Linked DNA regions of Homo sapiens: regions 2, 3 and 4 are each linked to region 1. The links are contacts of gene promoters, found by promoter capture Hi-C in blood cells and fetal thymus (Javierre and others, 2016). All regions are on one chromosome and are shown on one strand. The core of a region is centred on a gene start or on the middle of the fragment in contact, and the rest is flanking DNA. Distances in the headings are between cores, read along the strand shown.

Region 1 (6,518 bases), core at 1,969-4,468:
GACTTTTATAATGTCTACTTAAATGCAAGCAGACAAAATTAGTTTTCACTTTAGATTGGAAGACCTTTCTCCATTGCAACTTTTTGGCCTCTCTTTTTGTTCTGCTCCCCAAGAGCAATGTAAATGTTGCTCTTTGTTTTGCTAAAAGAGGAATGTTTATTTTTACAAGTACCATGCCACTTCCATATGATCTACATGGTATGTGTCATGAATATAATTTCTGTATGATTGGCCAAATTTTTCACTTTTAATTAAGATGACCAGACAAAAATTTGAATTGTAAGAAAATTATGGGCCAATTTAGTGCCTGTTGAAATGTACACTGGATATTGAAATGTTCTACAGAGCATAATGAATGAAAGTAAAAAGGCTCTATCTCTTTTCTGAAGCCTACTTGAAAATTTTGCTTTCATAACATGACATTGAAAAAGATACTATAAAAATATTTATTAAAATCATAGCTCGAGTTTTTTCTTAGAAGTAAGAAATTATGTTTAATATCAAGGACTTTACTACAGGATAACATGATTGTGTTTCACATAGAAAAACTTTGTTGAAAAATCAGTGTGGAGTTGAGTTCATCTGGGCCCTAGCTGAAACTAATTTTACTTTTGGATATTCCATAAACTGCATACATCTCTTTCTTACTGTTTTGTTTTTCTATGTATGAGAAATCCATAGACACAGAAAAAAGATGGAGAGCCTTCATTTCTCTTATTTTCACTTTTGTCCCATCCCTCTGTGCTTGTTCTTTGTTTAAATAAACTTTTGTTGTATGTCTTTCACACATCATCACTCTCTGCTTCAAAGGCTTCTTTTAATAACTTAGCCCTGGCTCACTTTTCTTTTGCATATGAAATTGATTTAACTAAAGTGTATGTGTGTGTTTGTGTGCGCATATGCCTACATACACATGCATCCGTACAAATAAAAATTTCACTGGAAAGGGAACTCCGTGATCTCTTTACTACGTACATACACACACCTTGTCGAAGTGGGAAAACTTAAGTTTGGAGTTAATTTGGTTTTGAGTTCCAGCTTTTTCTCTTAGTGCTGTCTGTTTCCTCACCCTGAAATGAAGATGGTAATGTTTACTTTGCAAAAGTTGCTGGGAAAGTTATGTATATATAAATCACTTTATTTTTATTGCTAGACATTCAATAAATGCTAGCTGTTACTGTGACCATCATTATTGTCATATATGTAACACAATTATGTCATACATTTATTTTGAAGCTGATAATAAGTAAACTGATAAAAAGCAGAAGGTTGAGATTAAGGCTTCTTATTGCTAAAAGATTGATCTTAAGTACAATCACGTGAAAACTGATAGTTACATAACCTGAAAAATCATAAAATACTGAAAAATTATGACTGTTATGTGATTGTTTTCAGTTGTCAGACTACGTGATGTTAAAATGGCAGTTGATTTTTTGTATTAACACAGTGCCTCTAATTTTAAAAACTGCTTCAGCAATCATGTATTTAATGAAAACAGAAGTAACGATACAAAATAACAAAAATATAAATAGAGTTCAGAATTTGAAAATACTGTATTAGGAGGTAAGCTGACTATTTTTCGTGTTCTTTAAATATATTTAGATCAACTTGAATATTAAGCCTCCTACAGCAGGTAGATAGAGGTATCAATTCAGTTACCATTTAAAATACAGTAACTCCAATGAGGAGTTTCTTATAATTATTTCTAATTACTTTTTGATATTAGAAATTAGAGCTATACCAGAATGCTGGGAAAGATGTCTTTTTCAACATTGTATCACAGCATCAAGCATTATGCATCAAACATCAATTCCTACTCACAATATCCATTCAATGTATATTTGGATTATATTTTCTTTGGATAGACCCTCATAGTAGAAACTCTGTATTAACCAGCTTGCAAGATGAACCAAGACTTTTTGTTTTCTTTGTAATATACTGATTCCTTTGGCATGTTGAATTTTCATGGCCAACAGTTACCTACTACCACATCCTAGCACTATTGTTTTTACCAGTTGTGTGCTTACCACGTCAGTTGTGTTATTCCGGACCTGTTTATACTAGTCTTATTTGTATCACCATTGTGTAATTTAATTAAATTTATGTGAACCAATGGCATGCAAGTTCAAAATGGAAAAGTTTTATTTCTATGAAACTAACCCAGTGCCTTGGAAAGAATCAGTAAAGGCAAGCTACAAAAATTTCTGTCAGATTACATGTCAGTGAGATAACTACAGAAGATGAGAGAAGGTTGTAAAAATAAGAGTTTTGTTAGATTATTTTAGAAATATCTTTAAATTCTCCCACTACTTAAAGTAAATGGAACTGGAAATCTTTTATGATGCATTATAGATACGCATTATATAAGAAAGATGCTGTGGAGCTCCAATTATTAACAGACATTATTAAATTTAAATTTTTGCCTCTGCATAAAAAGATTGGCCAAAGAATGTACATACACATGCTCAAAGTTAAAATGTTTAAGGTGCATATGTCTCATTAATGAGTATCTTCTTCATCCATTTTTTCAAATTAACCAATCAACAACTGGCCCTAACAGTACTGGATAAGGTAACTTCTATTCTATTTTGTATTCCTACTCTTTACAGAGTTTTAGAGATGTTTTGTTTCCTACCTACCAAGGGAAAAAAAGGGAATTGGCAGATAGAGTTTATATCTTGGGATGAGATGTGTAAAGGGCCAGGACCTGAAATTACGTGAAGGTTGATATTCTGGGATTGGTAGTTTTGAAGTTCCATAAAGAAGTTCAGTCCAGCCATGTTCCAAATGCTCTGAGTATAGGCACTGGCTGGTAAGCTTAGTGGAGTGTTATACAACATGGAAGTCTAACTGGCAGTTCAATGTCCCAAAAGTTGGACAGAACCAAGAAATAGAGAACATAAGCAGATGACAGTAATCCAGGCAGAAGGTTAGTGTCAGAGAAGTCTGTCAGTGGGTCATAGGGCTCCACGTGCTAGCCTGGGTTTCCGTGCCAGAATTTTGTTCTTGGGAGGCAGGTAGGGAAAAGCAAGTCAACATCTCCAGTTCCAGATGAGCTAGGGCACTTGACCAAATACAGGTACAGAAGTTAGTCCTTGAGGTAGAGCTTACCTGTTGGAGAACATGGCAGAAATCATTGTACCAAAATTGGAGCACAGGTCAGAGGCTAAAGCATGGCTTACTGCTGTGGCTCATGGTGAACTTGAGCTTCTCATGGCCCCTCCTATCTCCTGAGGATGGCTGAGCTCACAGATGGGGACTGTTATGTAATCAGAGGTCAAGTGGTTTAGCTGGGGTGGCAGAGAGCCAGGTGAAGACTGAAAGTGTTCAAATAAGGAAGAGAACAGAATTGCTTTATGTCTGCCTTCATGAAGACAAACCCTAATAGCCAAAGGACTGAAAGTTTGCCCAAAGAGACCTCAATTTTTGAAAGGAAAATGCATCTTCTCCTTATGTTAGAATGACCACGTCTAAATAAAATAAACTCTTTTGCCTTTTGTTGTTACTTGTCTTGGTATCTACCATTGTTTGACACTAAAAAAAAATAAAGCAGTGACTAATTATTGGCTAATTTAATCTGTCATGATGGCATTTGTAATTCAGGTACATCCTTCATTAAAGCAAGTATAGGCATTATTATTTTTAAAACTTTTTTTTTCTATTTGGATTTCTTCTATTTTGTTTGATTATTTATTTTGTTGTTACTGGTGGTGGTGGTGTTTTACAGTGAGACATACTGGTTAGCTCAGCTAAGGTGTTTGAGTAAGACTTCATAAACATAAAGTACTTTGTGTGGGTTTGTTTTGTGTGTTCCATCTTACGTCATTTGTGGCACTGAAAATGAGATTGCAATTCCCAGAGTACTGGGATAGTTCATTCAGAGGTTAGCCCACCTAAGTTTATAGCAGTTGTCTGTAATAGAATTGTAACTAATTTCCACTGTTGTTTTTGGAGAAAACTGTAGACTATAATTATGTGTTAGCACTTTTTAAACAGCTCCCTGCATTGTCATATCATTTTAAATGGGCTCTGTTTTAAAATGACCTTTCATGTTTTGATTGCAAAAATATAGCTTACACAGGTCTGTAGTTAGCAAAATACAAGGATCCAGTAAATGATAGAGCATTGACACAACTCTAGAAGCATGTGTTAAACATCACTGGCACTGCCCTAGGTTTAAAGGGGAAGAAATAGGGAAGTAGAAATTCACTGTTCTTCAACACTCCTTCTGTTGGATAGGCAAGATTAGTACATAGAACAGTTATGGAGCCATGTGAAAAAAAATAGTAGTTATACAAATGTAAAATGCTACACATGAAGTATATTGCATTACCTTTTTGTGGCCTATGGAAAGAAGTCTCAGAGCACAGTAAGATTCAAGTACCATCTCCCAGAATTGGGGTCAGCAACACCATTTTATATTTTGGCAAATGCTACCCACTGTCTCCCAAACGGCAGATATCTGCATATAGTTAGTCATGTGGACACACCCTTCCTCTGCTACATTGCATTGCCATATTAGTAGTAGAATTTTAGTGTTGATTTAAAAGACAGTCTGCCTTAAAGCAGATTGCATAGTTTGCACACTGTGAATTGTAATTAAAGTGTAAGGGGGGCTTATTATGTCAACAACTGGCATGAGAACCCCCGAGCAGCAGGTGACCCTGACCATGTGACGTTTGTGACAGCTAGGATCCCCTTTTCACTGGCTTAGCGATCTGAAAGTCCAAATTGAAAGAAGCCCAGAGGCTGTATATTTCATTAGATCCCAGGGGAAGTACAGGATACAGCTTCCTTCTGTTTTCCTGGGAGGTCGCCAGAAAGTTTGTAGAGCTCTGTTTCTGTCAGAGACTCAAAAGAGAAAAGAAAAAGCACACACAAAACAAAACAAAACACCATACACACCACAAAACCATCCACCAATCACCCCCAGGACCATAAATTTGACATTTCCCACAGTCTGAGACCACAGTGTTGCTGTGTCAGCAATACGCTCCTTGTTTGAATTGTCTGAAAGGAAGGCTCAGTGTTCTAGCTTTTAAAAAATGTGTAATCTTCAATATGCAGTGATTCTCTTGGTGTAAAACCATGAGAAATTATCAAGTACAGATATCATATGATTTGCTTGAAATACTTTTGCATTATGCGTTACTTTCTCCTGACCTTCTAAAATGGGGCATAAGTCCGAATTTAGAAAGAGGAAACCACATGTGTAATAAGGGAAACAGACTAAGGAGACATGCCATGTGTATTTCAGATCTTATTGTGATGGGTAAACTGTTTGAAATGTGGTCACATTAAAAGTATGTTACTTTGTGGGAGACTCAAAATCTTTTACGAGTAGATTTTTATTGTGTTCCATAGTGGAAATAGAACTAGGGTTTGGTTTTGGTGGGAAGTTTTGGTCTTCAAGTCACCTTGGCACCTGACTGGCAGTTGTGAAACTAAGTAGAAAAGATACCTCTTTTTTCTTGGCACCTCACACGGGATCATAGGATTCTTACTATCATACAATTTATATATCACAGAAATGAAAACTTCGGTACTTTGTTGTATAATACAGATCTTGTGCTTGTTGATTTTTAATTTGGGGCTCAAGCTTCCCATGTCAACTAATGTGGCCGCTGCTAGGCTGCCCTCGGGTAGACCAAATGTAAGCTCACTAGGAAGTATTTCTAGCTCTGTAAATACCTAGCATATCGTTTAGTCCAGGCATGTCCAATCTTTTGGCTTCCCTCGACCACATTGGAAGAAGAAGAATTGCCTTGGGTCACACATAAAGTACACTAACATTAACGATAGCTGATGAGCTTAAAACAAAAATCGCAAAAAAATCTTAGCATGTTGGCCAGGCATGGTGGCTCACGCCTGTAATCCCAGCACTTGGGGAGGCCAAGGCGGGTGGATCATTTGAGGTGAGGTCAGGAGTTCAAGACCAGCCTGGCCAACATGGTGAAACCCCATCTCTACTAAAAATACAAAAAAAATTATCTGGGTGTGGTGGTGCGTGCCTGTAATCCCAGCTACTCAGGAGGCTGAGGCAGGAGAATCGCTTGAACCGAGGAGACAGAGGTTGCAGTGAGCCAAGATCGCACCTCTGCACTCCAGCCTGGGTGAGAAAGTGAGACTCCATCTAAAAAAAAAAAAAAAAAAAAAAAATCTCATAATGTTGTAAGAAAGTTTACGAATTTGTGTTGGGCCGTGTTCAAAGCTGTCCTGGGCTGCATGTGGCCCCTGGGCCGTGGGTTGGACGAGCTTGGTTTAGTCCCTAAGTGTTGTTCATTTTAAACCAGAAAGTGAGAATTTTCTGAGCCCAGATTCTACCTTTATACTGCTATTTGTTATGTTTTGGTCAAAAGGGAAATACAGAAAGAGGAAAGTTAACAGTCATGGTTTGTGTGCTTGTATGTTGTATACTTTCATGTTTTGATTGCAAGAATATGGTTTACACAGGTCTGTAGTTAGCAAAATACAAGGATCCAGTAAATGATCCTTGTATCATTTATTTAGGACCCTCT
Region 2 (6,518 bases), core at 2,383-4,882, 230 kb before region 1:
ACGTAAGGTAACATACTCACAGGTTCCAGGGATTGTGGCATAGACATCTCTGAGGAAGGGGCATTATTCTGCCACCACATGGAAGAAGGGTGCATGATGAGACAGCGCTGGGGCATTTTGAGAAGGAGGTATCATGGCATGATGGGAAGATCCTTTTCCACTATAAACCTGGGCTCAAATCACAGCTCATTCCTGTACTAACCCGTGAATTTGAACAAGTCATTTGACATCTCTAATCCTCAGTGTCTTCATCTAAAAGGTGTAGATAACAATAATTCCTTCCCAGAAAATGTGAGGGAATAAAATGTTTTTTAAAGTTAATGAAGCAGTGCTTGGCCAAGAATAGGTACTCAGTGAATGAGGAGGAACAGTAAGAAATATGTTTTGGCTGGACCATTAAGGGCCAGCAAAGGAGCAAAAGGAAATAGGAATGGAAAGATGCACAGCAATAACATAGTGAAGAATCTTGAATGCCAAATTTTATTTTACAGACCATGAAATGTTATCAAAGGCACTAACTAGAACAAGTGAGTGGCCTGAGCATTCACCAAGCAAAAACAAACGTCAGATGAATTAAAATGAGTAGCTTTGGCATTAAGATTCCCTAAGGACAGGTAGGCTAGGCCCCCTCACATCTAAATTTCACATTTTAAGCCAATAAGTAGAAAATAAATCCCCCAATTCTGTTGCTGCCAGTGGTGAACAGCATGTTGTCCTCTAAGCACTCAGTTCATGTTCACACATAATTTTAATTCTGCTTTAACTTCAGATTCATGGATTTTCAATTTATCCAACATCTGGAACACCAAGGGCACTGGGAAAGCCATTCTGGGAGGCTGCCACTTACACAGTGGGACCTCAATAAACATTTGTTGATCAAAAACCCAAAACATGGGGAAAAGGAAGATTTGGAAACTGAAACCAGGTCTTTTGAAGTGGAACATAATTTGAAGGGTTTAACTGTGATATATTGAAAAACATATTTTGCAAGTGAACAATTGGTGAAAATTATCAGCTAAGGTTAGCAAAAGATCCAGGGGAGGAAAGAAGGAAGTCTAGAGTCTTCATGCATGTGAAAGGGACATTTTGGAATTACTTTCATTTTTGTCACAATCACACACATACATACACAATTAGGCAATTCCTAATTACAAGCATCAAAAAATAACGTCAAATAATTCAAGAAGATTCTTTTTAACTCCTATGATTATTATGCCATCAACTATTCCTAACTAGTATTTGTTAGTCAACAAAGGAGAAGTTGTTTTGTAAAATTTTTCTGCAATCCACAAAATGTATTTGGTTTGGTATTTCTGGTTAATTAGTTAGTTCTATGTAAATTGATACATTTCTGGTAATAAAAAGAATATTTCAAAAATAACTTCTTCCCTGGATGACAGAACAACAAATAAACACTGTGCCTTTTTTTTTTTTTTTTTTTTTTGAGACTGAGTTTCGCTTTTGTTTCCCAGGCTGGAGTGCAATGTCACAATCGTGGCTCACCACAACCTCAGCCTCCTGCGTTCAAGCAGTTCTCCTGCCTGAGCATCCCGAGTAGCTGGGATTACAGGCATGTGCCACCAAGCCTGGCTGAATTTTGTATTTTTAGTAGAAATGGGGTTTCTCCATATTGGTCAGGCTGGTCTCGAACTCCCGACCTCAGGTGATCCGCCCACCTTGGCCTCCCAAAGTGCTGGGGTTACAAGCATGAGCCACCGTGCCCAGCCCAACACTGTGCTTCTTGCACTGATTTCTGCCAATAATATGAATTATTTTAGGGCATGTATAGTGGGTTCCACATGTGTTGAATTTAACCCCCTGATTTAGAATGCTTGTCAGAGACTTCTTTGCAGACCACAATGTCATTGTGTCTCCAGGTTTCTTTTAAAATTTACATTTGCTCCTGAGGAAAGGGCAAGGTAAGCAGAACTAAACTAATATTTGTAGAACTTCTCTCTGCACTGGCCCTTCAAGGATATCATCTCACTCAATCCTCATTGCAAACTAGTGAAGGAGCTATTATAATTCTCATTTTATGAGTGAAAGTGTGAACCCCAAAGAGTTTTATACCTTGCCTAAAGTCTTTCAACCAGTAAGTGGCAGAACCAGGATTTGAACCTAGTTTTCTCAGTCATCCATGGCTCTAGTTTAACTTCTAGCTGTCAAAACAATTGAAAAGGATCCACCAAGATAAAACAGAAGTCACTGATGAACTAGAACAGGTGCTGAAGCTATAAGATGGAGCCTGAGAGTCAGCCTTACTCTTTGACTTATGTTAAAGAAACATCACTGAACAATGAATTTCTAGTTCACTCATCTTTAGGAAGAAACCAAGAAAGATTTCAGTCAATCAATAAATACCTAGATGCAGTTAAAAGCTTGGCAGATAATAACAACAACAACCGTAATCATGATAATATGTACTGAGTACTTACTCTATTCAGTCCTTACTCTAAGCACCTGAGAGACGTTAACTCTTCTAATCCTCATGACATCTCTGTGAGGTTGGTACTATTATCATCCCATTTTATAGAGGAGGAGCTGGAGAAATAGTGAGGTCACGAGGTAAGTGACAGAGCTGAGTTATCCCAGGCAGTCCTCTAAACCACACTGCCTCCATAAAGGAGATTCAGGAGCATACAACATCAATAAACAGAACCATGTTAATACAAGAGTGTTTTTTATCCACAGAAATAATGATGCCTGGCATGTTTATAGAACTATGCAATTTATAAAAAGGATTCATGCATTCATCATCCCAACTGATTCTCTTAAAGTAGTCTGGATGTATATATTTTATCCATACTGCACAGGTTCTTTCATTCATTCAATTCAAATATGTATTGAGCACTTCAATTCAACTAGCTTTGGAGAGAGAGCAGTAATCAAAAAGTATCTCACCCTTGCCTTCATAGAGCTTACTGTAGCAGACAGGACATTCTTTAATAAATAATCACATGAGTATGCAATTACAAATGGTACTAAGAACTATGAATGAAAAGTACTGGGAATGCTGAGAGCATATAATAGGGAATGACCTAGTCACACACTCTCAGACTCACTGATAGAACTATCCTGGAAGGTAAGATGTTCCTGAGAAAGCTCATTTGAGCTGAAGTCTAAGGACAATTGAGAATTAATTTAAATGCAACAGTATCAATAAAAGCTTCCTACCATCCTATTTAAAATTGCAAGCATTTTGCATACTCCTTACCCATTTATGTTTTTCTGTATCAATTATCATCTTCTAATGTACTATATAATCTACTTATTTATTATGTTTATTTATGGTCTGATTCCCCCTCAATTAGAATGTAGATGCTATGAGAATTTTTAAATCAGTTGCATTCACTCAAGTGTTCTGCATATACAGCCCCTCGGTAATACTTGTTGAATGAATGAATGAATGAATGAATGAATGAACAAAGAAACCAGTAGAAGGTGTTTGGGGGTGTAGGGGCTAGCAGTCAGATGGGATTTCTCAGTAGACAGGTGCCTTTTTTAAATGTCCTGAGGCAGAAGAGCACATAAAGCTCTTAAAAGAACTCAAGAGGCCCGGTACAGTGGCTCATGCCTATAATCCCAGCATTTTGGGAGGCCAAGGCGGGTGGATTGCTTGAGCCCAGGAGTTCAAGACCAGCCTGGCCAACATGTTGAAACCCTGTCTCTACTAAAAATACAAAAATTAGCTGGGCATGATGGCATGCACCTGTGGTCCCAGCTACTTGGGAAGCTGAGGCAGGAGAATCACTTGAACCCGGGAGGCAGAGGTTGCAGTGAGCCGAGATCATGCCACTGCACCCAACCTGGTGACAGAGTAAGACTCTGTCTCAAAAAATATATATACAAAAATTAGCCTGGCATAGTGGCACATGCCCATGGTCCCAGGTACTCAGGAGGCTGAAGAGGGAGAATCACTTGAGCCTGGGAGATGGAGGTTGCAGTGAGCCAAGATTACACCACTGCACTCCAGACTGGGCAATAGAGCGAGACTTTATCTCAATAAAATAAAATAATAGAGGAACTCAAGAAGACCAGTGTGTCTGGAGTGTAGAGAACAGAACAAGTGGGAAAGTGGCAGGAGATGAGATGGACAGGAAAGCTTGGGCCCTTTGCTGAAGAAATGGAAAGTCAGGGTGGACAATCCAAAAAAAGGAGGCATGATTTGGACTCCAAGTTAGATATAGCCAACTCTGTCATCTCTCACACTTCTCCAAGAGGTGTGCATTCTCCATAACAGGGAAATATAGAATACTCCAATTGGAGAAATATTTAATACATTTTTTAAAGATGGTCACTTAACATGCTTGAGGCAGAAGAGCCTGATGGGTATGGTTGATTTATGAGTATCTGGATATTGATGCAGGGGGTGTCAAAGTGCATTAATTTTGTAGAGTTTCCTAATTCTAGTTTGTTAAAACATAATATTTAAAAAGTGGTATCCTAGATCATTTACTGTCTCAGCTAGGGATAATTGATATTGTGGCAGATAGCCAGCATTGTTGGCAGAAAGAGAATCTTACAGGAGGCCAGCAACATCAGACATTCCAGGACCCACTGATAGATTTCTACCTGCCAGCCCCAAAGCATCTTTGTCCTCTTACAGGAAAGAGCAAAGTGTTCCTTAGCCAGGCGGGTGGATGGTGCTCTCCTTTATGTCCCTGCTTGAGGCTCAGGAGAGAGAGGTTTGTGTCTTTTAATTAAAACAGATCTTTGTCAAACTAGTGTTTTGACTCAAAGCTTATTTAATAGACTCCCAGACTATGCCTAACATGTGGTAAGAGTCATGAAACCGTGTGGCACGGTATTACAGAAGGTGCTTTGGGCTTGCTTCTGTCAAACAAATTAAATGCCTGCACTTCATACACTTTACAAGGCCAAATTAAACACTCATCAAAGAGGAGATGCCTTTTAATGTGCAGTGCCTGCAGCCTCCTTGACACTAGCTAGCTTGCTCCACAAATCCCAGGCTGTCTCGGCTAAATACAGGACAATGGCATTTTCTCTCCTGAGCTGTCGTTTCCAAGATTTAGGTCTTCCCTACAAGGATACTTCTTTTTCCAGCAATTCTGAAATTCTAGTTAGCACCTAGAAGATGTTAGCTACCCTTTTGTTCTTCTTCTTCTTCTTCTCCTTCTCCTTCTTCCTCACGGAGTCTTGCTCTGTCACCCAGACTGCAGTGCAGTGGCACAATCTCACTTCACTGCAACCTCTGCCTCCCAGATTCAAGCGATTCTCATGCCTCTGCCTCCCAAGTAGCTGGGATTATAGGCACCTTCCACCACGCCAGGCTAATTTTTTTGTATTTTTAGTAAAAACCGGGTTTTACCATGTTGGCCAGTCTGGTCTCGAACTCCTGACCTCAGGCAATCTGCCCACCTCAGCCTCCCAAAGTGCTGGGATTACAGGTGTGAGCCACCGCACCTGGCCAAGGTAGTTCATTCTTGCAAATAAACATTGTTGAAAGTGTCAGTTATCCATCTTTCCTAGAAAGTATTAATATTTCATAGTAAATTAAATGAGACCAGCATGCCAGAAGCCCTTCCCAGACTGTTCACAAATTGAGGCTGTGATAATTAAAATGTGATTCCATTTTCTGACATGGACACTGCTACTAATTCTTTGGTTTCTATAAACTAGAACTAGCTAGCACACCATTTAAATTAAAATCTAGACTAAACCTTACATAAGCATGCCAGGTTGTGCTTTTGCCAGTCATGTATTGACCTGGGAAATGCTTTGATAAAGTACTACCTTGCTCTAAGTTATTTCTTTGTATTCCAGCTTTCTATTCATTCTGGAATTTTACATTCCAAAGGCTAAAAGAGACCTTGAAAAATCATCTAGACAAGGAATTCTCAAATATAAGTCAGCTAAACAAATGCATTAGAATGACCTGAAGCACTTACTAAAAATACACGTTTCCAGACTTCACCTCAGACCTACTGAAACAGAAGCTCTGGTTGTGGAATGTAGGGACCACATTAGGAATAAGTTTCTCAGCCAGTGCAATGGCTCATGCCTGTAATCCCAACACTTCAGGAGGCCGAGGCGGGAGGATCACTTGAGGCCAAGGAGTTCGAGACCAACCTGGCCAACAAGGCTAAACCCCGTCTCTACTAAAAATACAAAAATTAGCTGGGTGTGGTGTCACACACCTGTAATCCCAGCTACTCAGGAGGCTGAGGCATGAGAATCATTTAAACCCGGGAGGCAGAGGTTGCAGTGAGCCAAGATAGTGCCACTGAACTCCAGCCTGGGCAAAGGAGCAAGACTCGATCTTGGAAAAAAAAAAGTTCCTCAAGAGAGTTTAGATCCTTCCTCACCATGTTTGAGAACCAGTCCTAATCTCCGTCTTACCCCCAGTCAAAGATAATATATAAGCCCACTTGGCTGATGAGCCCTTACATAGAGATACAATAAACAGTCCTCCATTTTTTTTTTTGAAATGGAGTCTTGCTGTCTTGCCCAGGCTGGAGTGCAATGGTGGGATGTTAGCTCACTGCAAGCCCTGCCAC
Region 3 (6,518 bases), core at 2,760-5,259, 180 kb before region 1:
CTGGCCTTGAATTTTATAATCACATGGACATTGTGTATTTCATAAATTTTAGTTTTTCCTCTTTAAATTATTAGGAAACTCAAAGTCAAATTTTAAGTCAATGCTAGCAAAGTAAATGGAATCTTATTGCATATGTTTTGAATCTTACTCTCAATTTCACCTCATTTTTATCTTGATAGACTTTGTGTATGTATGTGTACACACCTCTACTCCAAAACCTATAAAATACAGGCAGGATAAATATGACTAGCTAAAAATTCAAATTATTTGTTATATATAGTCCTCTATTAACAACTGTTGGTGGTAGAGGTATTGAGGGAATAGAAACTTACATATTTTGAACAGTTTTACATTCATGATTTTATTGAATCCTCACCAAGCCACATGAGGTAAGCAGGGCTGACAATATTTACATTTTACAGTGGGCGGGAGATGGGTAGGATGTCAGGGAAATTAAACTGTCCCAAGGTCACCAAGAGTAAAGAATAGGAAAGCATATTAAGCCCACAACTCAAAAATTCAATTCACAGCCTGGCACAGAGGCTCATGCCTGTAATCCCAGCACTTTGGGAGGCCGAGGCAGGAGGATTGCTTGAGCCCAGGAGTTCAAGACCAGCCTGGGCAACATAATGAAACCCTGACTTTACAAAAAACACAAAAATTAGCCAGCTGTGGTGCCGCGGGCCTGCAGTCCCAGCTGCTTGGGAAGCTGAGGCAGGGGGCTTGCTTGAGCCAGGGAGGTTGAGCCTGCAGTGAGCCATGTTGGTGCCACCACACACCAGCCTGGGTGAGAGAGAGAGACCCTGTCTCTAAATAACTACATAAAATTCAAGTCACTACTCTCTATGTTACAGTTCTAGACTGTTTCTCTCACTCCTGCCTCATTTGTTTTTCCTGAAAAATTATCCTTTATCTGTCTAAACATGTTTGGGTAAATCTTCAAGTGCTAGCCTGGATTTTATAGCCACTTTTTCAGTTTAGACAATTACCCATTTTCTTTCTTCTATCAGATCTACCAGCAGTATGTCTTCACTTTCTCAGACCTCTTTTCTATGTTGATACCAGAGACAGTTATTCACGCCTTTCCCATTCCTGCAGAATATCCTTTGCATGAAGTAATGAAACTGGCACTGGACTGGGGATGAATTCTTTACCAACTGTGTGGCCATGAGCTTGATACTTCACTGTGCTACTTTCAGTTTTATCATCTGTAAAATGTGGTGGTTGGAGACTTCTGAGTTCCCTTTCAGCTTTCTGCTTCTGTGAATTGTAAACTCATACTTTGCTACCTTTTATTTATTTATTTATTTATTTATTTGAGATAGAGTCTCGCTCTGTCGCCCAGGCTGGAGTGCAGTGGCGTGATCTCTGCTCACTGCAACCTCCGCTTCCAGGATTCAAGCGACTCTTGTACCTCAGCCTCCGGAGTAGCTGGGATTACAGGTGCCTGCCACCACACCCAGCTAATTTTTGTATTTTTAGTAGAGATGCGGTTTTGCCATGTTGGCCAGGCTGGTTTCAAACACCTGACCTCAAGTGATCCACCTGCCTTGGCTTCCCAAAGTGCTGGGATCACAGGAGTCTCCACCACACCCAGCCTCGGCCTTTACTTTAGTCAAGATTTTTTCTGCTGGTCATCTCAGCAGCTCAGTTGAATATCATTTTTCAATTGGACATCATTTTTGGTCTTCTGCAGTTTATTGTGGTGTGTCGAAGATAAGAAGGATGCGACCATATGCTTACCTTTGATTATGATTACAGCCAGCTAACCATCAACATTGTATTTTAAAAAACTGAATCCTGAAGCCTTTCCTAAGGCAGATACAATGGCGAGAGCTTTGGGGAGCAATTCTAAATGAATTAAATATTCTATTTAACTACTCATTAAGAGAATGACTTTGAGTAACAAACTCCCCATAGTTTTCTGAGCCTTAGTTTCTTCATTTTTGTGATGGGAATGACAAAGTCTAAGCCACTTATGCAGTAGGAAGGTTAAAGGTGATGACCTGTGTGGAAGGCCTGTGAAAGGCAAATTCAATGCCCTGCTAGTTATACTGACAATTCCACCCTTGTGATAATGCCCTGTCTTGCATTAGCCATACTCCTGACCTTGTTTTCTATCAGAACGCAAGTCTAGAAAAAGTAACCATTGTTCCTGTCATTTACATATTAATTCACCAAACATTTACTGAAGATCTACTGTGGCACTTTGCTTATAAGCTTTCAAGGATGAATAAAATAACTGCATTTTCAAGAAGCCCATAGCTCAGTGGACAGACACACAAATAAATAACTGATGTAGAATGTGAAGAGAGCGGTCTTAGATGAGTGTAAGATGTTAGAGAACACAGAGGAGATTGACCAATTCCGCCTATGGGAGTTGGGAAACAACATTAAATTGGTCCTTGAGAAAATGGGTGAAACAGGGAGACAACTTCAGGGTCTTCTGGGCAAAAAGAATCATACAAACAAGGAAAAAGAGGGATGAACATGTATGGTATATTTGGGAGGTGATAAAAAGGGAAAACTCAGTCATTTTTTGTGGCTAGGATGAGGAGGCAGCCGAGAGAGACTGAGCAGGAGGGGAGTCTGGAAAAGTAGGCTGATAAAAAAATTAGATATATTATATACCAAATTGGAGAAAGGCCATGAGATTTCAGAGAGAAAACAATTCAAATATACCATGAGATTGTTTTGTAATCTTGATTATTAGTTATAGAGAAGATTAGGCTGCTGTATCGGAGACCTGAAAACACTGTAGCTTAAAAAAAACACAACTACGGTAGCCTAAATATAATCTATGCTGGAGAAGCGGCTCTGCTCCAGGAGGTTATTTAGGAACGCAGGTTCCTTTCATCCCGTAGCTCTTTTGTCTCCCAGGGAATTGTCCGGGTCTTTGTAGTTGAAGTTGGTATTTCAGTATCATTGCTGTCTTTGGAAAGGGCCACAAGTTCAGGACAAATCTATCTTTCTTTCTTTCTTTTCTTTCTTTTCTCTCTTTCTTTCTTTCTTTCCTTTCTCTCTCTCTCTTTCTCTCTTTCCTTTCTTTCTCTTTCTTCTCTCTCTCCCCTTGCTGCTCCCCACCACCTTTCTCCCTTCCTTCCTTTCCTTCCTTTTCCTTTTCTCCTTCCCTCCTTCACTCATTTCTTTCTCCTCTTTATCTTCTTTCTCCTCTTTCTCTCTTTCTTTCTTTCCTTTTTTTTTTTTTTTGTGACAGGATCTCACTCTTATTGCCCAGGCTGGAATGCAGTAGTGTGATCATAGCTCACTGCAGCCTCAATCTCCAGGGCTCAAGCAATCTCCTGCCTCAGCCTCCTGAGTATCAGGGACTACAGATGTGTGGCATCATGCCCAGCTAAATTTTTTATTTTTATTTTTTGCAGAGACAAAGTCTATCTATGTTGCCCAGACTTGTCTTGAACTCCTGTGGCTCAAGTGATCCTCCTGCCTTGGCCTTTGAAAAGGCTGGGGTTATAGGCATGAGCCACTATGCCTGGCCCAGGACAAATTTCTTTTAAGCAAGTGTCATGAAGTTGCAGCCAACAATTCTGCTCACAGAACTTAATCATGTGTCATATTTAGTTGCAAGGAAGGCTAGGAAATATTAACTTTATTTTTATTTTATTAGGATTTTATTTTAATAGGATTGGTTCTCAAACATGGTAGGGAGGGATCAAACTCTCTTGAGGAACTTTTTTTTTTTTTTTTTTTTTTTTGAGCTGGAGTCTCGCTCCTTTGCTCAGGCGGGAGTGCAATGGCATGATCTCAGCTCACTGCACCTCCGCCTCCCAGGTTCAAGCGATTCTACTGCCTCAGCCTCCTGAGTAGCTGGGACTACAGATGTGTGCCACCAAACCCAGAGAATGTTTGTATTGTTAGTGGAGATGGGGTTTCACCATGTTGGCCAGGCTGATCCCGAACACCTGGCCTCAAGCGAGCTGCCTGCTTTGGCCTCCCAAAGTGCTGGGATTACAGGTGTGAGCCACTGTGCTCAGCCTAATATTGACTTTAAATAGCTCATCTGTGTATCTAAGAATAGAGAAAGAACAGATTTGGGAGTGGGGAGGCAATAGTCTGCCACAACTTGCTTATTTGGGAACCTCATCAATTCCTAGATTAATTTCGCTTGTAGTGTTTATCATTTATATTGCAATGTGTGTCCTTTGAATGCCTGTGTTGATTACTTTGTCTAAAAAGTGATTTGAATGATCTAGGATTTATACAGGCAAATCAAGAAAATGTGAAATATATCTCTGTGTGTCAACATTCAACTTCGTTCACAAATTAAAACTTAAGTTGATTATTAGAAAAATATTGCAATTTTGAATTATGTTTCTAATTCTGTAAAACTCTAACATTCTAGTTTCCATATCAATGTCTTGCAAGAGGATTAAGTTTTTATTTGGGTCAACAAAGCAAAATTCCTGGAAGAGCCTACTATTTTCAAGGCATAAAGCCAACCTACACAGAAACATGAGGCTCTCAATGGGGTTAGCAACCCAAATTCACCCTACTAGATTTGCACCTGATTTCCAGTGGCATGGTGGAGCCAAGGTTACTGGAATGCAAATTCACAAAGGTGGGAAGAATTGATGTAGTGTAAACGTTTAAGCCATGTGAACTACTATTACTGGTATTATTTTAATATTATTTAATATTAGGTTTAAGGATATTAGAAGCAGCAATTTGTGGAGTAAGTAGAGCCTATTTCACTAACAGATCTTATTATACATCTTCTGGCTATTTGAATTTTGAGAAGAGTCTGGGAAAAATTTACTCCTAAATTGCCTCTGTTGATCAAAGTCCCCGAAAACCAGTATCAGCGGAGGGTCTTCCTTGTTTCCTTACCTCTCTTTCATGCTCTACTCCTTCTTCCCTTTCTCTCTTTTTCTCATTCATTCCAGCGGTGCCATAGCTCAGGACTGCATCTTTTCTCATATCTTTCTAACCACTCTCTTTGCCTCCACTACTAGAATGATATTTCTAATTTGTAAATCTTATTTTGTATATCTCTTGGTTAAATACAGCCCCTCCAGTGAAGGTTCAAAGGGTTCACAATGCTCTCCACCACCTTGGCTCTGCCTGCCTTTCTAAGGTCATCTCTAGTTACAGTAATACTGTCCAGTGCCGCCTAAGGACGTTTCAGTCAATGAGAGACCACAGATACAATGGTGGTCCTATAAGATTATATAATACTGTATTTTTATTGTACCTTTTCTATGTTTAGATATAGGAATGCTTACCATTGTGTTACAGTAGCCTATAATATTCAGTAGAGTAACCTGCTGTACAGAGCTGAGCCTAGGAGCAATAAGCTATACCACATAGCCTAGGTGTGTATAAGGTTATACCATCTAGGTTTCTGCAAGTATACTCTACGATGTTCTTACAACGACTAAATCGCCTAACAACGTATTTCTCAGAATGTATCCCTGTCATGAAGTGACACATGACTATACAAGCTAATCCTAACTAGACAACTAGCCACAATTGAATACATCCCCATTCTTTGGCCTGTTGCATACACTGACATCATTGCGTTTTCCTGGAGAGGAATGCCCTGCCCCTCACCTGTCTACCTGACTAATGCATATTTCTGTCCCAACACAAATGTCTCTTTTTTAGGCCTTAATGACTGTCTCTGCCTTAATGACCCAGACAAAATGAATCATTCTATCACCACTGCCCATTTTATACATATATATGTGTGTATATATATATATATATATATGTTGGACATAACGCTTATTACATTACACTATTAGTTAGCTTTATGTCTTATCTACCCCATTGCACTGAAAGCTTGTTAGAGGCAGGGATAATGTCTCATTCTTTGCTGTATCCCTAGCTCTTAGCACCTTCAATGAGCCTATATTGAGCACACATAATGTACTAGTTAATTTACATATGTTATCTATCTCCCATTTTCCAGATCAGAAATCTAAAGCTTGCAGAGGTTTTGCCTGAAAAAAAAAAAAATACACATGGTAGAACCAACATTAAAACCTAAGTTGAGGCCAGGCTTGGTGGTTCACACCTGTAATCCCAGCACTTTGGGAGGCCGAGGTGGGCGGATCACAAGGTCAGGAGATTGAGACCATCCTGCCCAACATGGTGAAACCCGGTCTCTATTAAAAATACAAAAATTAGCCAGGCATGGTGGCGGGTGCCTGTAGTCCCAACTACTGAGGAGGCTGAGGCAGGAGAATCACTTGAACCCAGGAGGCAGAGGTTGCAGTGAGCCGAGATCGCAGCACTGCACTCCAGCCTGGGCAACAAGAGCAAAAACTCTGTCCAAAAAAAAAAACCTAAGTTGGACTCTGAAGCCAATGCTATGTTGTCAATGCTATGTTGTTGTTGACTAGATGGAGATATAAAAGGTCACTTTGGAAATGGTGCCAACCTACCATATCAAACTGAGTTAATGCACTACAGACAATGCACACAAAATTCACTGTTACCACCTACTTACAAGGCCTGGCCTGCTTAGCATCAGAGATTATTCAGACCATAGTATC
Region 4 (6,518 bases), core at 2,482-4,981, 150 kb before region 1:
TGGCAAATCTTGGTCTTCTTTAAAATGTTGCTAACCCTAAAACAAGAAATGATGAGGATAATTATGATAACTAGAGATTGAAGTGGAATAACTGTAATGTTCTTTGAGAACTTTAAACTTACTTCTTTTCATGTCTTTCAAATACTTCCCTAGTGGTAGATATTTTGGACCTAGATCAATTGGGAGTAGAGAAAAGGAGATGGAAGGAAGGAAAGGAAATAACTTTTATTGAATGTCTGTTCTGCAGCAGGCACTGAGTAAGGTTTGTCATAGTCATATATTGTAGCTTGCTGTCGCTTTCATAGCAGTATTATGAATTAGTAATGCACTCTCTATTTGAACGGATGAGGATAGACTCTTCAGAGTGGCCAGGTTACATGTCCAGAGCAAGATTCAAACCCAGGTCTTCTGATTTCAAATCTTATGCTCTTAAACAATTCAAATTCATTTTGTATCCTTCTTTATATCTTATTGTTTAGGGTTGGATGTCGTTTTCATGGTATCACACACCTGTCTTGAATCAAAGGGAAAGTAAAAAGTCAAAATCCAAACCCCTCCCATTGAGATATTTCACTGTCAAATTCAGATGTTAGCCACAGAATGAGGCCACACTTGATAAAGAGAGAAATGATGTTACACTTGTCACTGTTAGGGTCAAAATCTGAAATGATTTGTTCTTTTTTGTTTTTATAATGTTGAAATTTAGTGAATAGAAGCATTATGACACAGGTTTAAGATTTTTAGTTGTTGTTAAGACAAAGTTAAACTAATTCGTTCTAGATGCTTTGAGAAGCCTTTGTGTATTAAACTAAGCACTATTTTAAAAACTAAATTGCATGTAATTTTTACTATGCAGATTTTTGTACATGGTTTTATATGTACAAGACATAATATATATTTCTAATTTCCCCTATACATTACATATATTTTTATATATATATTTACAGACAGAGAAATATATATCTATTTCTAACTTCCCCTAATGATTGGATTTTAAAATGTAAAATTCACTTTGCTCTGAAAAAATCCTTTGGTTATGGCTGTGTGTGTAATTATTTAAAATAAAGCCAAAATCATGTTTGAGAAAAGAATGGAATTTTATTAGTTTAAAATTAAAAAATTAAAATAGGAAAAAAATTGAAGATGGACATGTTTCAATTTCGTGCCCTTAAATTAGTGAATTAGTGAGCTTTTTTTTGTTGTTGTTGTTGTTTGAGACGGAGTTTAGCCCTTGTTTTCTAGGCTGGAGTGCAGTGGCATGATCTCGGCTCACCGCAATCTCTGCCTCCCTGGTTCAAGCGATTCTCCTGTCTCAGCCTCCCGAATAGCTGTGATTACAGGCATGCACCCCCATGCATGTAATTTTTAGTAGAGACAGGGTTTCTCCATGTTGGTCAGGCTGGTCTCGAACTCCTGGCCTCAGGTGTTCCACCTGCCTCGGCCTGCCAAAGTGCTGGGATTACAGGCATGAGCCACCACGCCTGGCCATGAGCTTTGTTTCTAACTCTTTAAACTTAGTCAAGATTAGTTCTTTTTTTTTTTTTTTTTTTTTTTGAGACGGAGTCTTGCTCTGTCACCCAGGCTGGAGTGCAATGGCATGATCTTGGCTCACTGCAACCTCTGCCTCCTGGGTTCAAACAATTCTCCTGCCTCAGTCTCCTGAGTAGCTGGGATTACAGGCTCCCACCACCACGCCAGGCTAATTTTTGTATTTTGAGTGGAGATGGGGTTTCACCATCTTGGTGAGGCTGGACTCGAACTCCTGACTTTGTGATCTGCCCACCTCGGCCTCTCAAAATGCTGGGATTACAGGCGTGAGCCACCGCGCCTGGCGACAAGATTAGTTCTTAATGATTTCAGTGCAAAAACTCAAAGCCTCACTCAACATAATTTTTATAATTGTAAATAGAAAAAGATGACCAATAAGTATAATTTATACTATATTAAGTCATTATACATATTAATTCTTCTAAGGTTTAATTTAAAAATAAGCAGCTGAACTGAACTTACAGCAAAGAAAATAAAATAGCTTTCTTTTTAAGAAATATTAATGAATCTTAAAGTTAGGGTTGTGTAGCATCAGTTATGCTAGAAAGGGAAAACTGAGTTTGAGGCATGTGAAGAAAAGTGATTAAATTGGTTAAAAAAATAGTACTCATATCCTATTGTCAACTGTATCTAGTTCCATACTGTATGTATTTTTATATCTCTGGTAAGTGCTTATGGTGGTCCCAAATAACTTGTGAGTTTCCAGACATAGACAGTTCTCAGAGCATGTGTATTCATATAAATTTTTAAATGGCTATTGCTGTAGTGCTCTACAGGTTAAAAAAAGTGAGGCGAAATTGAAACATTTAAAAAATACTGTACTATTTAAAAATTTGTATGAATGTCTGTGTAGCAGCTGCCATTTTCAGGCTGTCTTTGTTGCTATGGTTTGGTTGATTTTATTTCCTTTTGTAATTTTGCCAGCCAGTGATTGGGTAGTACATTGCATTCATGCTGTTGGGGAAGATATATCTGTGGTGAGTCAGATAGCTTGATCTGAGTAGTAATTTTTAGTAGGGAAAGGTATTTGTCAGTGGGTAATAGAAACTGTAGTGTTACATTACCCATCTTCATTTAATTTTCAAATTTACAGACATGTCACTTAATATCAGAAATTCAGAACCATCTCTTTTGCAGTGATATGTACTTGCCTCTCTCCTTTTGTCCTGTCAGATGCACTTAGAATTCTGTGTAGTTTAATCTTAAAGGGATTAGTTATTTAATTTTAAGCTCCTACATAAAATGAATATTGTACATACAGGGTCCCATCATTGTCACTTTCAAATATTCCATTGCCTTTCAAAGGAGCTGACATGACAAGTCCTTAGGTTGACAAATTCTCATCAACTTTTATGAAAATGTTGGCTGCAGAAGGAGTAAAGTCAAAGGAGGGCCATAGACAGATGGCTTTCAGTGTTGAGATGACATCAAGCCCTTCTTCGTGGCATTTTTTAACATTCCAAATGAATGAGGGATGGAGATGCTTAAAGAGCTTACTATAGAATAAGTAATTAAGATATTGTGTATCTGCATGTAAACCCCTGTTGCATACTATTAAACAGAGTTGTGCAGGCTCAGATATAATAGCAGATTAACAATGACAATTGTAAATATCTTTTATGCTGAATGTAACTCATAAATAATATTACACATTAACATGTTGCTGATGGAAAACTGTGTACCTGAGAACATATTTTCAACATTAGATAATTGAGAACTAACGATAAGTGGGTTACCAGTGTTTGAAATGAAGCAAAGATTCTAGATAAGAACTTGGCAAAAGCTTATTTGCATAAGAAATTTTGCGTCTTTATATGACTATGACAAGATTTTTTTGGATGGATGCACACCATATAAAAATTACTAAGTTACTAAAGTTTCTGATGGATTCATTTAGTTGGCTTTCCTCCCCCTCTTCTTTTAAATGGTAGAGGTTCTCTTTTGGAGAGTAGTTTCAAGTAACTTCTGAGAATGAAGTCTTTGTAACGATGCTGTTCAACAGCGTAACTATTGTTGTGCATTCCTGTCAGGGAAAGATAGTCATTGCAGTACTTTTATTGTATGGCCTCTTAATATGTGACAAGGACTTTTATTAAGAATTCTTTTCTTAACATACTTTTAGAAGTCTCTCCTTTTCCCACATTCAATCAGTAACTACAGTTTTAAAAAAATATTTAAATGAACTTTTATTGATTTCTTAGCTTACTGTATAGACAAAAATCTTACGTTTAAAAAAGGTTTTAAAATTAATGTATTTTAGAGTTTCAGTAAAATGAAGTGGGAACAAAAATTAACAAAAAAGTGCCATCTCATTGGATCCAGGATATGTAGTAATACACACACACAGTTCTATGTCTGTGTAACCATATATATATATGTATACACAGTTCTTTGGAGAATGAGGATATTTCAGTCCAAAATGTTATGGTTGAAGAACTAATTGTTCTAAAGATATTTGCCCCTGGCCCCAGAAAAGACGACAAACATGCAAAATGGATAAATGTAATCCTTTGTACTTTTACCACCTACATTTTTAAACTACAGTAACTCTGATTTCTCTAGAAAGGTCAGAGGTTTCAGACAGAAAGCTTTGTAATTCTTCAAAGAAAGACATTTTCAGTTTGGCTGTATAAAGACTGATTATGCATAGCTTTTTACTTTATGTGCGGTTGAATCTTGGAGGTGCTGGAGTGGGGTGGGGACGATGAATAAGTGAAGCTGTGTTTTGAGACATTAGAATTGGAGGGAAACAGACAGATTGGAGAGGAACATAGATTCATATTTTTGGGCTTTTTACTATCAAGTCACCCAGTCTAAAACTCAGGACAGAGCAGCATTAACCATTCATTTTGCTTTGTGATAGAGCATTCGATTACCAACTCTTTAAACTCTTTTGGCAATTCAAGGAGGTTGCCTATCTGGGTACCATTTCTTAGGATTTGCTTTGTTGGATTTTCTAAATTGTGGATGTGAGTTTCTTTGGTTTTGCATTTTTTAAAAAAATTTTTTGGTCCTTTTTAACTTTTCCAAGTTTTGGAGAATTTTTCATGTTGGGCGGTGTTGGAGAAGTAGAGATTGTAGATGACCTTCGTTGTGGCTTACTCCTGTTATTTGGGAAATAGACGTTCAGAGAGCATCTCACTTGAGGCCACACCAACAGTTAAGAGGCAAAGCCAGCATTTAAGCCAACTCCCTTAGATCCCAGACTTTTGCCCTAAAACTATATTATTTAAATTATCTTTTCTTATGTGTTTTTAAATTAGCCCTTCATATAAACTTCAAATTTTAGGTAGGGGAGCTTTTATGGTTCCCTTTATGCCAGTGAGGAAACAGCCAGAGAGGTTGAGTAACTTGTCCAGGGTTATATGGTTAATAAGTGGTTAGGATTAGTAACTAGGCCAGACCCTTCTATGGCCTGTTTTTATCTCTAAGATGATCCCCAGTATGTTAGACTTGAAACTATGGATGGAGTGAAAAATATTCTCTGCAAATACATCAACACTCTGAAAGCCATTGTTTTCTCTGTTTAGAAAGTAGTTGAAAAAGTAGTGAGAAACTAGAGCTTTTTCTTTTCTGGTGTTAGTTTCAGCTTCCTACCTTGAAGGGAACCTTAAGGCCCAAACCTTCTTTTTTACATTTGAGGATTCTAAGTCCATGCATCTCGGAAACTATGGAGACGGGAACTTCTTGTGTGAGTTGGAGAGCAGTTGTAGACCGTTATCATTTCCATCGGTGCGGATGCTCTTTGGGTGGTGGTGGCATAGAAGATCTGTTTTGGTTACCTTTATTGACAAGCTCTACTGTGTGACTGGCAGTTCAGTTCAGCAGATAGGTTTCCAGCACTAATCTTAGGCACTGTGATAGATTCCCGAGATGCAAAACTGAAGAAAATACCTTGAGACAAGTCAGTGCCATCTCAGATATAATTTCCTCAGAAATCAAGATTTTAGAGCATTTGATGTTTTTAAATTAGAGTCCTTTCAACTAATAGCCTGTATGAAGTTTTTAAAACACTTATAAAAAATTTATGGTGATTATTATTATTTTGAGACAGGGTCTTGCTCTGTTGCCTAGCTGGAGTGCAGTGGTGCAGTCGTAGCTCACTGCTGCCTCAAACTTCTGGGCCCACACAATCCTCCTACTTCAGCCTCCTAAGTAGCTGGGACTAAAGGTGAATCCCAACACCCTGGGCTAACTTAAAAAAATATTTTGTGGAGATAGAGTCTCACTACATTGCCCAGGCTGGTCACTGAACTCCCAGCTTCCAGTGATCCTCCCACCTCAGCCTCTCAAAGTTCTGAGATTCTAAGTATGAGCTGCCAAACCTGGCCTATATGAAGTTTTAAACATTTGTAGAACCAGTTGTTAACATTGCTTTTTTTTTTTTTACCATAAAATTGGTATATGTCGAGGAATTCTATCGTTTGACTATATTTCTATTGTGTTAAATTTTTTGTTTTCTTATATCAAAAATATTTTTGTAAATGTAAAGAAAATTCAAGCAGACAGAAGATGGTGCAGGTGCTTTCTATTATTTAATAGTTCACCTGGCCAGGCACAGTGGCTCATGCCTGTAATCCCGGCACTTTGGGAGGCTGAGGCAGGCACATCACCTGAGGTCGGGAGTTCGAGATCAGCCTGACAAATATGGAGAAACTCCGTCTCTACTGAAAATACAAAATTAGCCGGGTGTGGTGGTGCATGCCTGCGATCCCAGCTACTCGGGAGGCCGAGGCAGGAGAATCGCTTGAACCCGGGAGGCAAAGGTTGTAGTGAGCTGAGATCGCGCCATTGCACTCCAGCCTGGGCAACAAGAGTGAAACTCCATCTCAAAAAAAAAAAAAAAAAAAGTAGTTCGCCACCATAGCATGTTTTCTCTAAAGAAAGCTGGTTGTGCACAGAAAAGTTCTATTTTTTTTAAAGGGCATCCTTCTAGTAATGCTGAAATATAAAACAAATAGCGTTATAGG

The links. The method cuts DNA at HindIII sites, captures the fragments that hold promoters and counts their contacts. A CHiCAGO score of 5 or more calls a contact.
Region 2: a fragment that was not itself captured here is called in contact with the fragment with the promoter of NFIA-AS1 in region 1 in 1 of 17 cell types (total CD8 T cells); the score reaches 5.3 in total CD8 T cells.
Region 3: a contact is called between a fragment that was not itself captured here and the fragment with the promoter of NFIA-AS1 in region 1, in 1 of 17 cell types (monocytes). The highest score is 5.3, in monocytes.
Region 4: a contact is called between a fragment that was not itself captured here and the fragment with the promoter of NFIA-AS1 in region 1, in 1 of 17 cell types (erythroblasts). The highest score is 6.4, in erythroblasts.

What each region holds. Positions count from the first base shown.
Region 1 is chr1:61,250,300-61,256,817 of GRCh38, forward strand. It overlaps NFIA-AS1 (NFIA antisense RNA 1), which reads right to left and starts at 3,219. Exons shown (of 4, transcript NR_104180.1): 1 at 3,112-3,219; 2 at 986-1,070. All of the region lies in intron 2 of NFIA (nuclear factor I A), which reads left to right. RefSeq lists an enhancer at 1-419. The HindIII fragment of the contact is 2,782 bases long and covers 2,816-5,597 here.
Region 2 is chr1:61,016,775-61,023,292 of GRCh38, forward strand. No RefSeq gene overlaps it. Among named protein-coding and RNA genes, the nearest start is that of NFIA-AS2, 49 kb to the left of the region's middle. The HindIII fragment of the contact is 936 bases long and covers 3,165-4,100 here.
Region 3 is chr1:61,068,546-61,075,063 of GRCh38, forward strand. No RefSeq gene overlaps it. Among named protein-coding and RNA genes, the nearest start is that of NFIA, 11 kb to the right of the region's middle. The HindIII fragment of the contact is 3,582 bases long and covers 2,219-5,800 here.
Region 4 is chr1:61,095,017-61,101,534 of GRCh38, forward strand. The region is part of intron 2 of NFIA (nuclear factor I A); the gene reads left to right. Among named protein-coding and RNA genes, the nearest start is that of NFIA, 16 kb to the left of the region's middle. The HindIII fragment of the contact is 805 bases long and covers 3,330-4,134 here.